3 separate regions of the Homo sapiens genome follow, and all the other regions are linked to region 1. The links are contacts of gene promoters, found by promoter capture Hi-C in blood cells and fetal thymus (Javierre and others, 2016). All regions are on one chromosome and are shown on one strand. Each heading gives the region's core, a stretch centred on a gene start or on the middle of the fragment in contact. The rest is flanking DNA. Distances are from core to core; before and after follow the strand shown.

The links. The method cuts DNA at HindIII sites, captures the fragments that hold promoters and counts their contacts. A CHiCAGO score of 5 or more calls a contact.
Region 2: a fragment that was not itself captured here is called in contact with the fragment with the promoter of COL1A2 in region 1 in 3 of 17 cell types (fetal thymus, M2 macrophages and total B cells); the score reaches 7.9 in fetal thymus.
Region 3: a contact is called between a fragment that was not itself captured here and the fragment with the promoter of COL1A2 in region 1, in 1 of 17 cell types (megakaryocytes). The highest score is 5.5, in megakaryocytes.

The regions. Positions count from the first base shown.
Region 1 is chr7:94,392,919-94,397,637 of GRCh38, forward strand. It overlaps COL1A2 (collagen type I alpha 2 chain), which reads left to right and starts at 1,977. Exons shown (of 52, transcript NM_000089.4): 1 at 1,977-2,183. The coding sequence starts at 2,114. The HindIII fragment of the contact is 15,634 bases long and covers 1-2,773 here.
Region 2 is chr7:93,439,732-93,444,450 of GRCh38, forward strand. It overlaps CALCR (calcitonin receptor), which reads right to left. Exons shown (of 14, transcript NM_001742.4): 9 at 3,873-4,026. Among named protein-coding and RNA genes, the nearest start is that of MIR653, 41 kb to the right of the region's middle. The HindIII fragment of the contact is 1,743 bases long and covers 1,206-2,948 here.
Region 3 is chr7:93,877,281-93,881,999 of GRCh38, forward strand. No RefSeq gene overlaps it. Among named protein-coding and RNA genes, the nearest start is that of TFPI2, 11 kb to the right of the region's middle. The HindIII fragment of the contact is 6,841 bases long and covers 1-4,719 here.

The sequences.
Region 1 (4,719 bases), core at 727-3,226:
AGAACCTAGAAAACTTCAAACATTGTTGCCTAGTTAGAAAAAAATTTGAATGTGGATTGCTCCCTGTAAACCCCCTTCTAGGAATGACCAGTAACCCTTTCAAATTCTTTCACTCCCAGTTACTTCAAAAAATCATCCAAAGTGGTCTCCCAAGTGAGTGCCTTTAATTAGAATAAAACAAGAGTTTATTATAGTTTTTGGTTATCCACTTTTACTTGCATTAACCTTTTTTTCTTCTTTTACATTTAGAAAGAGTAACCTGCTTTAGAATAGTCCCTTTTATTTACAGAAGCTGCTGATGGAGTTAACTTCTGCAGAAATTCTTCCTTAAGGCAAAGCAAAAAAAGCGGGGAGGGGGTGGGGGGAAGGAAGGGAAAAAGATTCTCAGGGAACTACAGCCCACTTGCTTCTGTTTCTTAGAGACAGAACTGACCTAAAGATGCCCCCTTTGCGATGACTTCTGGGATAGAGCAGCACTCTAACTAGGCCCCCGCTGCCTCATGGGGACCTTAGGCAAGTAGAGGAGAGGCCTGACACACACACACACACACACACACACACGCACACGCGCGCGCGCGCACACACACACACACAGCCTTTCAAACCTAGGGCCTGGAATGCCATCCCAAGAGGCTTTAGAAAAAGGCACAGGACCTTTGGCCTCCCACCTCAGGGTCAAAGTACCAGTTCCTCCTCTCCCTAGTAGGGAGTGGAGGGTTGGATGGAGGCGGCCAGAGAAGAGGGAAGTTGGGTGCTGGGGAGAGAGTTAACATCCACGTTGGTGGGCGCACTGCTTGGGGTGTTACCAGCGAAGACTACGAAGACCCCAAGCTCGAATCAGAAGGGCCTCTGGATGTGCTAGGGGAGGTGCTTGGGTGTGGCTGTAAGAGATGGGACAGAGAGTAAGCAGCAAGGTCAAGAGGGACCGGGGGGCTCACGGGAGGGTTGAAGGGTCCAGGCTCAGGGTAGAACTGGTAAATCCAGACAAGGAGCCCATGGAGAAGGGGAGGGGAGACTGGAAACCATGAAAGATCCCCCACCGCAGCCTCAGAAAGGAGAGACTGAGAAATAAGTTCTCGGTCTCCAGGTCGGTTGGAGTCGTGTCGGAGTGCCAGACCATCCCCCAAAAGACCCTCTTTGGAATGAGCCTCAGCAAAGGCAAGCTAGGAGGTCGAAGGACTTCCCCAGGTGACTCGGTCTAGTCTAGAGTTCGCAAAGCCTATCCTCCCTGTAGCCGGGTGCCAAGCAGCCTCGAGCCTGCTCCCCAGCCCACCTGCCAACAAAAGGCGCCCTCCGACTGCAACCCAGCCCTCCACAGACAGGACCCGCCCTTTCCCGAAGTCATAAGACAAAGAGAGTGCATCACTGCTGAAACAGTGGGCGCACACGAGCCCCAAAGCTAGAGAAAAGCTGGACGGGGCTGGGGGCGGGGTGCAGGGGTGGAGGGGCGGGGAGGCGGGCTCCGGCTGCGCCACGCTATCGAGTCTTCCCTCCCTCCTTCTCTGCCCCCTCCGCTCCCGCTGGAGCCCTCCACCCTACAAGTGGCCTACAGGGCACAGGTGAGGCGGGACTGGACAGCTCCTGCTTTGATCGCCGGAGATCTGCAAATTCTGCCCATGTCGGGGCTGCAGAGCACTCCGACGTGTCCCATAGTGTTTCCAAACTTGGAAAGGGCGGGGGAGGGCGGGAGGATGCGGAGGGCGGAGGTATGCAGACAACGAGTCAGAGTTTCCCCTTGAAAGCCTCAAAAGTGTCCACGTCCTCAAAAAGAATGGAACCAATTTAAGAAGCCAGCCCCGTGGCCACGTCCCTTCCCCCATTCGCTCCCTCCTCTGCGCCCCCGCAGGCTCCTCCCAGCTGTGGCTGCCCGGGCCCCCAGCCCCAGCCCTCCCATTGGTGGAGGCCCTTTTGGAGGCACCCTAGGGCCAGGGAAACTTTTGCCGTATAAATAGGGCAGATCCGGGCTTTATTATTTTAGCACCACGGCAGCAGGAGGTTTCGGCTAAGTTGGAGGTACTGGCCACGACTGCATGCCCGCGCCCGCCAGGTGATACCTCCGCCGGTGACCCAGGGGCTCTGCGACACAAGGAGTCTGCATGTCTAAGTGCTAGACATGCTCAGCTTTGTGGATACGCGGACTTTGTTGCTGCTTGCAGTAACCTTATGCCTAGCAACATGCCAATGTAAGTGCCTTCAGCTTGTTTGGGGGAGACTGGGTAGAGAGGTTAGATGGGAGGGCACCCTGCCCTGAAAAGGAAAACCTGTAACCTGAATTCCAGGTACACTTGGAGGGCAGACTCTCAGGCATGTGGGAAAACGCCGGAATTGATAAGAAACATGGAAATTACTTTAAAAAATGAAAACATAAAAGCCTTGCCAAAAGTTAGGGAACTTTTCCTCTAAGTTCAGAGTGAGACAGTTAACTCGGTCTGGCTCCTCAGCTTAGTAACCCCCAAAGGGAGCGGAAGGTCTTTTTCCCTAAGGATGAGATATTAACGACCAATGTGGTGGAGGAAGTCAAGGGCCTGCACCCCACAGGCCCCATAACCGCACTGATGTCCACCTTGTAAAACTTGAGGCCTGCGTTAGAAAGCCCTTCAACTGAGTAATGTAAAACTCACCTCCTAAGAGCTTTTATCTTCTGGGCATTGTAAGGCTTGTCCGGAGGAGGAGGATGACGATGCTGATATGATGATGGTTATAAGGCGCCCTCTGGAGGAAGGAAAATGAAAGTACAGGGGACAGGGCCTTAAGCAGATGGAATCCCAATTAAAGCTTCTACGGATTTATACAGATTAATGATCAGCATTTCTGGTTGGAGCCTTTCCCAGTGGCTAGTCAGTGAACCCTGGAAAGAAGAATGGATGCTACTTGGAGTGGGTACATTCTGAAAAGTAATATAAGTGTCTCAATTCACTTTCTAGTCATGGAAATGGTAACATTTTTTAACTCAAATCTGCTCTAAATTTTGTTTGAGCCTGAGAATTACCCCTTTGACATGTTCCCAGTGATAAGCAAACATTATGAACGCAGCAAGTTGAGAAATATCAACATTGAGATGAGACTCAAGAGACCGGGGTTTTTCCCATGAGTCTGACACCAATTTGCTGCGTGACTTTGGGCAAGTCAAACGGCCTTTTCTAAAATGTGAGACAGAGATTAAAGGGACCCCAAGGCCACTTTCCAGCTCTAGGTTCCATGGCCAGACTTTCATGTCAACAGAGAATGAAGAAGATCAGTCCGTTTTCATCTTGAAAATGGCTGCCAAAGTGCTAGACAAAGATATTGACTAGATGGGGGATGGTATTGTCTGACCACACCCAGTACTCCAAAAAGTTGTTCCACCCACACAGCACGGTGTCTACCACTGCATAATTTCTAATGCATTTGTGTGCTTGTGTGTGTGTGTGTGTGTGTGTGTGTGTCTGTGTGTCTGTGTGTCTCTTCCCCCTTCATTCACTTTTAGTATACATACTGTGGATACTAAGGAGTAATTGCAGTGAACAAATTCACATTACCGAGTTCATATTTTTAATGAGATCTTGAGAGTGGGAGGAAAGAGTCGGCTCCTAGAGAATAAAATGAAGGCAGACTTAGGGAAATTTGAAGGTACAAAGGCAACTTACCTTCTGATCAACAGCCAACCACAGTCTGGAATAAATGTTATCAAACACACATTCTTCAAAATGGTCCATGTCTGAGTAATTAAAAGGCAAATTTCCAAAATCATAAGGACTTCCGTTAATCAAGTCAGGCATAATTATTCTTCCTACTGATGGACACAATGAAGTAAACATATCATTCTTGTAATTTAACAGTAATTCTCGTAAATTGCCCTTAAATGTCAGTGCTGGATGTGGTCCACCCTCCTAAATTGTGACTGTTGCAACAGATGTTCTCACTTCAAATAACGCACTTCTTGGCCACCTAATTAAAGCAATTTTTGGGGTGATTCATCCTACTGCAAGCTTGGCCACACTTGTATCCTGTATTAACCTATAATTTTTGTACCGTAGGAGAAGAATTCACTCTTTAAGGACTTATAACAATTATGGCAAAAGGGGGGATAGTACTTTTGTTTATTTTTTCTATTATTTTTCAAGATCTTTAATCCGGTTTTTCCATTTATACAAAACTCTTTCTCCGAGACAAAAATGATACATATTGGTAAAATGATCTTACCTAATTTAAGTGAACTAATTTAAAGCAAAATTCAGATGTCTGAATTAATCCATTTTCATAGTTAATAATGTGCAAATTAGACCTTTTGAAAAAGGATATTAAGAATGGTACAAACTCAATGAAGTACTAGGTAACTTCAATGTTTTATAAAAAAGTAAGTCAGCTTCAATGTTTCATAAAAAACAAATTCAATATAGAATTTTAAGGTAACATACTTTCCTAAATTTTACCTTTTTTCGATATTTAGGTATTAAAAATGATCAAAATCATAAATTATTTCCTCATCAATCTACTAGTCTTACATTCAGCGATTCATCTGTGCACTTTACCAGCTTAATTGCTAAGCATTCAAAATATCCTTCAGACACATTAATATTTCACAACAGTTATAAAATAGTAAATAATTAATAATTTAATTCAAAATACATTTACATATTAATATTGCAAACAAATCACCCTGCTGATCCCTGCCATACTTTTGACCTGCATAATTTCTAGGTCATTAAAATATTCTTAAAAAAATATAATTGGTCCTTA
Region 2 (4,719 bases), core at 827-3,326, 950 kb before region 1:
AAATTCTATTTGTTCAATATAGAAGTCCATGGGGGAAATTTCCTTCCTTTGATTTCTAACAAGGGGAAAACCAGCAAGGCAAGGCAAAGAAACAGTCTGGAGAGGGCTGCAAAATAAGTGATCTTCCTGAGAACTAAACTTCAGTATTTGAAGTTACTTCAATTGGAGAGAAATCGACTACTAAGTGGTGCCATGCAGACTTGGAAGGGAATAACTACTGAAAGAACCATTCTTTGATTTTCTGTTGGGGAGAATTTCACCACCAGATACTTGTTCACCCAGTGGCTAATGTTTACAATATCTCTTATCATTCTTTGAGATTCATTTCAAATCCTAGAATTGGAAACATTATTCACAGCTGAATTAAATGAATGGGCTTTACATCACCTGCAAACAAATTAGGTGCTATAATACAACTGGGCTTTTTTGGGCCATATTTTCTGCAGTCTAACTTTCAAGAATCTTTTAAAAGTATGTAGGTTTTGCTTCTTTTCTGGCATTGTAAAATTTAGAACCTATCATACTGTCTTCATGTGAAAAAAATTTTCAAAGGACAATAAAAATATTATCCAGAAGAGACTTATTCTCTTGCCCCATTAAACTTTATAAAGTTTCTGTGAAACTATTTTTTTCTTGAGAAATTAATTGGTATTAATTTCACCCATTTTCCTCCCATCCAAAGATAATGCTTGCTTAAAATTCTAAGAAAGGAGCCACTGCTTTAAAATATGTCAATTTTGTTCTCAGAGTTCAGATTTGGCAATGTGATTTTTCAGTGGTAATGAGTTTGGTGGAATTTTGGTGTGTGTGTGTCTGTGTGTGTGTGTGTGTGCATGTAGAAAGATAGTCTTAGCTTTGGCATGCTAAAAACATTACATTTTAGAACTATTTGGTTGACTATCTTTCCAAAAGTCCATCTACGGAAGTGCAAATCCCTCTAGTTCTTTTTTTAATTTAAATTTTTATATTATTCTGGCAAGAACAATTAGCATCAGGTCTGCCCTCTAAACAGATTTTTAAGTGCATAGTACAAAATTGTTACCTATAGGCACAATGTTGTACAGCAGATACCTAAAATTTACTCATCTTGCATTACTTAATCTGTATAACCATTGATTAGCAACTCCCCGTTCTGTGCTTACGTTACTAAGTGTAATGTTCTTTGGGATTCTACTTGAATCATTCGAATTGTTGTTGATTACAGAAGCTTAAGGTATCACATAAACAATTTACTTATTATTATTGCCTTTGTTTTTGATACAGCTGAGCAGCTTGTTCCTTTTTTCCTTTGAATTGTTTATGTGTTTTAAGCAGATATCTTCATTGAGCTGTCTATGATGATGCCAAAAAGTTTTATAACTAATTCACAATGCATCAGTATACTCCAAGAGCAGTATAAATTGTTCCTTCCAGGGTGCCCTTGTCTCTGCTGAATGTCACCGACAAGAATACATTTACAGCCTTTTTTTCCCATGAAAAATTTTCTGAGTATGGCAGATAGATGTTTTGAACAATCAAAACTGGTAAAAGAAATATACCACAGATTTTATTTCAAAGGAAATAAATCTGGCAGAAAGTATGTGTGTGTTTGTGTGTGTGTTTGGGGTGGAATGTTATTTTCAGGTCTTTGACTGGAAGGCATTTGATCAACACCAATTATTATGATTGTGATGATCAGAATTGCCATTGCAGTGATTAAATTGTATCCAGTCTATTCTTAGCATGACCAGATTTGGAAATCTAGAAATTGTTGAGAGGGTGTACATACGGATGAGAAGGCCAGGGAAAGGAAAGATTAGTCTCTGTGGAAGGCTGGGGCTAAAAGAGAAAAAAAAAAATAGTAAAAGACCATTTTGAGTAAATTTTGACCTGTTTTAGGACAGGAAAGAGCAGGAGAACCTGTTACCTGATGTGGAACCAGCAGGATAGTGATAGCCTGATTTCTAACCTCACTGGATGGTTAAGGAAACAGGGTGCAGCGCTGCTCTCCTTATAAGGGAGCAGCCATGCAGATGAGGTGATCTGGTGAATATCCTAGACAGCCTGTACAGTTCACAAAGACCCCTTTCTCAGTCCTTTGCTGGAGGGTTCACAATCACTAGACATGTTCACACTATGTGACAACATCCCCCTCAATTTTCTTGGCCACAGTTTATTGAACCAGGGTAGGCTACCTGCCTTCAGTTGGATCAATCAGATTTTCTTGTCCTGCTATTCAGAATTGGAACTTAAAGATGGGCATTTAGTTTCTGTGAGTGCCTGGAACAGAAACATGTGTACTCAGGAAACTTTGGGGCAGGATGTATTTACTATGAAAACTGGAGGGAGCAGAGACCCTATGGTCTATGGCCTGTAAAGAAAGAGAAGGGTAAAAACAGATATGCAAGGAAAAACAAAGACAAAAGGCAGAGGGAGAGAGCTCCTGGCTTATCTGCTCCCAGGCTACAGCCCTTTTAGTTGCCTGGCTATATTTCTGCCCTTAGATTCCATGAGATACGCTAGATTCTGACAACTTCTCTGTATTTGCTTAAGTTAGAACATCTTACTCTGTTGCTTGCAACCAAATAATTGTAGCATCATCAATTCAATTTTGAGGCATCCCGCCTATCTGCCCCATTGACCCACCATTATCGGATTATCCCATTGGGCTTGGGCAATGCATTTGGTTAAAACCATGTACCCCTGTTATGTAAGGGTGTTATGGAAACCAGTATGGCATAACACCAGCCCCTTTCTGCAGTTTACAGACTGCAGGAAAGACTCTAGGCTGCTTATATGACTTCCCAAGCACATTTCTATAAAGTTGGCGACAATGCCTGTTGGGCAGGGCTTTAAATACAAAAGGTGATGTTTTTAAAAAATCCCTTGGATTGTCCTCCCTCCTCACTACACCTCTCCTCTCTTACCAGTACTTGTAGGGGCTCCCCAGCCTGCTGCATTAAAGGGCAAGCTTAGTTGAAGGCCATCCACAGCCTCTGCTCTCAGAGTCACAGTCACCCATCATGTGGGGTGGATGTGGTGAGAGAAGCCCTTGGCTCTATAGTCAGTGAGGGATGGCCCACGAGTTCCTCCTCTGGTATGGAAGTTTCAAGGTAAGGCTGAAACTTTTTTTTTGATAAGGCAGCATGTGTTTTTATCGCAGCATTTATTTTCTTTCATTGCCTCACCTTCTGTTCAGTTCCCTTCCACCAGGGGGAGCTGGACTTTCAGCAGCCCTGGGGGAAAGGGAGCAATTCTAGAGCATCCCTGAAGGACTTCAGCACCCTGCCTTAGTTTGTACGGAAGCAGCCACAGCTTAAACAATCCAGCCCTAAGCTTTCCCGAGCCAATGCCATGTGCTATGATGTCACACAGGCTCTACTTGGAAGCCCGTGTGGTTATATCTGCCTCTCAGCTGGACTCCACTTCCTGAGCTTTCACTGGAGGAATCCTGATGATGGATTGACAGGAAGAAATGTTCTTGATGAAGGAAAATGAAGCCAGGGTAGGGGAGGTACATAATTCAAAATGTGAAATTCTCCTTTGCTCTACAAACATGTGATGAATAAAGCAGAAGGAGGCCTAATCAGATCTTCTCTCAATCAGGACACATTTTGTGTCCATCATTAGCTAGGTTTGTTTCCTGAAGTTACCCTTTGGAAGTCACCCTTATCTTCCTTCTCTGTGCAGACCCTCATGTTCAGCACAGTTGAGATTGTTAAAGGGCTTCCACAGGTCTTTTGGAGACTGAACTCCTGCCAGTACCTGTGTTCCATCATTCCTTGAAGGACCTGGGACTTGACTCTATTCTCTGAGACCAAGACTAGAAGAAGACTGAAAGCATACAGACAGAGGTGAAAGTGACTCAAAACTTAGCTGCAGAAAATACATACCCCAGCCCAAGAGATAATACCACCGCAAGCGTTGCTTCTCAGTAAACACAGCCACGACAATGAGTGTATGAAGATAGATCCCTTCACAGAGCATCCAGAAATAGTTGCAGGCCATCATGTACTGGTGGAAAAAATGCAAAATCTTGCAGCTCACCTGTCAGAAAGAAAGGAAGATACTCAGAGAAAGACACAGGTAAAGATCTGCCAGGGAGCACAGAGCAAATGTGAAAACAAGCCAAAGTATCTGCATTCAGCTTGCAAGGCAGTTTCCCAAGCATCTGTAAACATGTGCCACCTGCTATACCCACAAATCAGAGTGAATGCACAGATCACTGCTATTACATGTAAATAGCCAAATAAGCCAGTGGAAAACTAGTCCACAAAATGTTCTTCCTTGTTGCATTCTGCGGACTTACACAGATGGGTTCATTTTCCTGCAATTTGTCAGACTCATAATCTTAGGCACCATCTAAGGATTTGATGCATGACTTTTATGGCCCCTTTTCTATGGCCAGTGAAGCAAATAACGCAGATATTTTTAATGCTGCTTCTGAAATTCACTGATTTGTTGATGATGTTCCTTTAGCAGTAAAGAGGAGAGAGTCAGGTGATAAATTTCATATATAAACCCAGGAGATACGCTGAGCCTAGCTGCTGTTTATGCTTTTGTTTTCATATGGGAGCCTTGGTTTGTATATTGGGATCAAGCGCTCTCTGGGCACAGAGATTAGGATGACATCCTTGCTGAGAACTCAATGCAGACGTAGGAGCCACACCCTTGGAAGAGTCAGATTAATATTGTTGTCTGTATAGAAATAACCATTGCTTGTACTGCATAATGGAATAC
Region 3 (4,719 bases), core at 1,056-3,555, 520 kb before region 1:
CTAAGAAAATAATGTATATATACAGTAATAATAATCTTTTCACGTAACTTTCCAAACCATACAGATTCATCAGGAGATCTTAATAAAACCACCCATAAGTTACTTATAGAGCAAAACTAAGAAAAAGAGAAAACATAGACTTCTATTTACACATAACTGAGGAAATAATATAAAAATTATGTGAAAAAGAAGAGAATGCAGTAGGGTCCCAGACTTGGTGAAACACAGATAATGTTACCCCAAGGAAAACACTCTTTTTCTTTGGTGTTTTCTTTGGGATAAGACAAGACCTTACTCCAACTAAGGTGTGTGGCCTGGTGGACCAAAGCAATGGCTATTGAGGAATTGGGGGAAGTGGGAGAGGCATGAAAATTGCAGGACCGGAGAGGTGGCAACCTTGTGAGAAGGCATTGCTTAGGGTGGAGTGTGAGGCAACCTAAAAAAAGTAGATATCCTTTGGAAAGAGACTTGATAGTGAATGGAAAGAAGAAATAAAGTGGTGAAAAGTAAGGATCTCATAGAAAGTTAAAAAAGAAAATAATAGAAGTGGAAGACACATCAACTCGTAAAAAAGGCATCATTTATTAAAGGCAGTGTACTTCCATGCACCCTCAGAAGAGAGTGCTCTTGAACTAAGCAACCTAGCAAGCTGCCGAAACCCCTCATAATGCACCATAGGAATGCTTGTTGTTGCTAATCCTGGAAAATCCAAGACACTTTAGAATGGACAGAAAGTCAGGCAACATTTACGTATAACTAGTGTAAGAAAAAGAAAGTGAAACTCAATTGTTTAATTTGATGAAAATAGTCCTAAAATATGCAACAGAGAAAAATGTTGATGCAACATTCAAATATAAAGTCTGTAATCTTTAACAAGCACTGGCAGATATATACATATTTGGATATATGTATATATATTTTAAATAATAAGTGTAAAATTGAACTTAACATGTATAAATAATAAATATATATTCCAATGAAAGCAATATCATTTCTTCTTAATAGGACATGAAAATTGATCTTACATGAAGTCACAAAGAAAATCTCAATAACAACTTGAATGTAGAAATAATGTAAGATCATTTATTCATAAATTATGTATATTTTTATATAAAAATGATTTTACGTATAAATGTTATATATAAATGATTTTATACATAAATGAAAATAATGTAGAAAACTTCTTTGATAGTTCAATAAAAAGAAAAATATAACAAATAGTAAGAACATAATGATAAAAGTTGCAGTTCACTGTGAATACATCTAACAATGTTATATATGAGTATAGATTCAATATACTTAAAATGTAACCAACAAAATCTAGCAATGCATTTAAAAAATAATATACAAATAGGTCATATCATTCAAATACAAGAATGGTATAATATCAGAAGAAGTTTTACATATTTTCCACAGATTATCTTATAAAAACTGTCTGACCATCTTGATTTCTTTTACAGATAGATCATTATTGATGTAAATAAATGCAACTGATTTTTGATGTTGATTTTGTGTCCTGCTACTTTACTGAATTCGATCATTAGTTCTAACAATTTTTGTGACATTTTAAGGATTTTCTACACAGAGGATCATATCATCTGCAAACAAAGATAATTTTGCTTCCTTTTGCATTTGGATGGCTTCTATTTATTTTTCTTATCTGATTGTCCTTGCTAGTATTTCCAGCAATTTTAATAGAACTGTTGAATAGAAGTGCAGAGGGTGGGCATCTTTGTACCTTGCCTTGTACTGTATCTTAGAGGAAAACCTTTCCATCTTTTAGCATCAAATAACAGGTAAGATACAGTTACAAATGCATGTATAGGTTAAGGAGCCTGGACTCTAAAGGTAGTGTCAACATATAATTTCTATTGTGTATGCCTTAACAGATATGAATATAAAAATCAGATTAGGCTACATAAAGAGAAAAATCGATCCATGGTCTTTAAAACTTCAAAGAAAATTATGTTGGCAGTTGGCTTTTTATAAATGGCTTTAGTTATGTTGAGGAAATTTTCTTCTATATGTATTTTGTTGAGAGTTTGTATCATGAAAACATGTTGAACTTTGTTAAGTATTTTTCTGCATCTATTGAGATAATCATATAATTTTTATATTTTATTCCCTTAATATAGGATATTACATTAATTTGTGTATGTTGGCACAGGTACATATAAAGACAATAAAGGATTTTTATTACTATAAATACAGTTAGTAAATCTATTAATGAAGGCAAGAACAACAAAGTTGGAGGCATCACATGTTCTTATTTCAAATTATACAACAAAGCAATAGTAATCAAAACAGTATGGCATAGGCATGAAACACACACATAGACCAGTGGAACAGAATAGGCAGCCCAGAAATAAACCCAAGCACATGTGGTCAACTAATTTCCAACAAGGCCACCAAGAAGAAATGATGAGGAAAGATTAGTTTTTTTTTCAATAAATGGAGTTGAGAAAACTGGATATCCATACATCAGAATCAACTCTAAATGGATTAAATACCTAAACATAAGGCCAGAAACAAACAAACAAAAAACTCGTAGAAGAAAACATAGGGGAAAATCTTGTTGCTATTGGCCTTGGCAATAATTTCCTGAACATCAACCCAAAAGATTAACCAACAAAAGCAAAAATAAATAGGTGGTGCTACATCAAACTAAAAGGTTTTTGCACAGCAAAGGAAGCAATCAACAAAATGAAAAGTAAGCCTACAGATGGGAAGAAAATATTTGTGAAACATATACTTCATGGGGTTAATATCCAAAATATGTAACAACTCAAAGCTATAGTAAAAACAAAAACCAAATAACCTAGTAAAAAATGGGCAAAAGAGCTAAACAGACATTTTTCCAAAGAAGACATAAAAATAGCCAACAAGAATATAAAAATGTGCTTAACATCATTAACTATGGAGGGAAATGCAAATCAAAACCACTATAAGATATCAATTCTGCTGTGCAGAAGCTCTTTAGCACTATTCACAATAGCAAAGACATGGAATCAACCTAAATGCCCATCAGTGATAGACTGGATAAAGAAAATATGGTACATATACACCATGGAATACCATGCAGCCATAAAAAAAGGATGAGATCATGTCCTTTCCAGGGACGTGGATGAAGCTGGAGGCCATTATCCTTAGCAAACTAACACAGAAACAGAAACCCAAATACCACGTTCTCACTTATAAGTGGGAGATAAATGATAAGAATGCATAGACACACAGAGGGAACAACACATACTGGGGCCTTTTGGAGGATGTAGGGCAGAGGAAGGGGAGGATCAGCAAAAACAACTAATGGGTACTACGCTTAATACCTGGGTGATGAAATAATCTGTACCACAAACCCCCATGACACAAGTTTACCCATGTAACAAACCTGCACTTGTACCCCTGGACTTTAAAAAAAATTTTTAATTAAAAAATAACCATAATAAATAAAGATATCACTTTATGCTTGTTAGGATGGCTATTATCAGAAAGTCAAGAGGTGTTTGGAAGGATGTGAAGAAATGGGAACCCTTGTATACTGTTGGGAATTTAAATTGGTACAGACATAGTAGAAAATAATATGGATGTTCCTCAAAAAAATGAAAATAGAACCACCATATGACCAAGCAATCTCTCTTCTGGGGATATACACAAAACACATGAAGTCAGTACTTCAGAAAGATATCTGCACTCCCATGTTCACTGCATTATTCACAATAGCCAAGATAGGAAAACAATCTAAGTGCCCATCCATGAATAAGTAGATAAAGAAGTTGTGAGATATGTATACACATACAGGCATACACTTACACATATATACATACACATGTATATATACAATAAAATATTATTCAGTCTTATAAAAGGATATACTGCCATTTGCAACAACAAGTATGAATCTGGAGGGTACTATACTAAGTGAAATAAGCCAGATACAGATAGAAAAATACTGCACAATCTCACTTATGTGTGGAATGAAAAAAAAACAGTTGAATATATAGAAACAGTAGAGTAGTGGTTACCAGGGATAGGGAAGGGGAGAAAAATGAGACAATGTTGATTAAAAGGTACCAACTTGCAGTTATGTTAAGATAAATAAGTCTGGAGATCTAATGTCAGCAGGAAGACTACAGTTATTAATACTACATGTTGACAATTTGCTCAAGAGTAGATTTTAGGTGCTCTTGCCAAAAAGTAAAGATAGAAAAGAGCAACTAGCAACTATAGAACATGATGGACATGTTAAAATTGCTTACCTGTAGTAGTAATTTCCCTATAAATATGTATATCAAAATACCATTTTGTACACCTTAAATTTACACAATTAAAAAAGTTCAACGTTTGTAATAATCTTGGAAATACCAAATAAAACAATGATAAAATAAAATACCATTTTATTAAAATGAAGTGATTTATTAATATTTTTCTGTTTATACCTAATGTATTGGCCATTTTCATATATTTTTAGTTGGGGATAGATTGATATAATTTGTAATGCACTTTCTCAGTATAAACTAAGGACATTAAAACGTGTATATCTCTTTACTAAGTTATTTCCACCTTAAGAGATCAGAAATGGAGTTATTAATCACTTGGTGGTAAAATTCTGCATTGCTTTTATTTTTAACCTTATGTATTTTATTTTCTATACAGTATACAATTAGCTTAATAATATATTTTGAAATGAAAAAAATAACATTAATTTTACATGAAAAAACT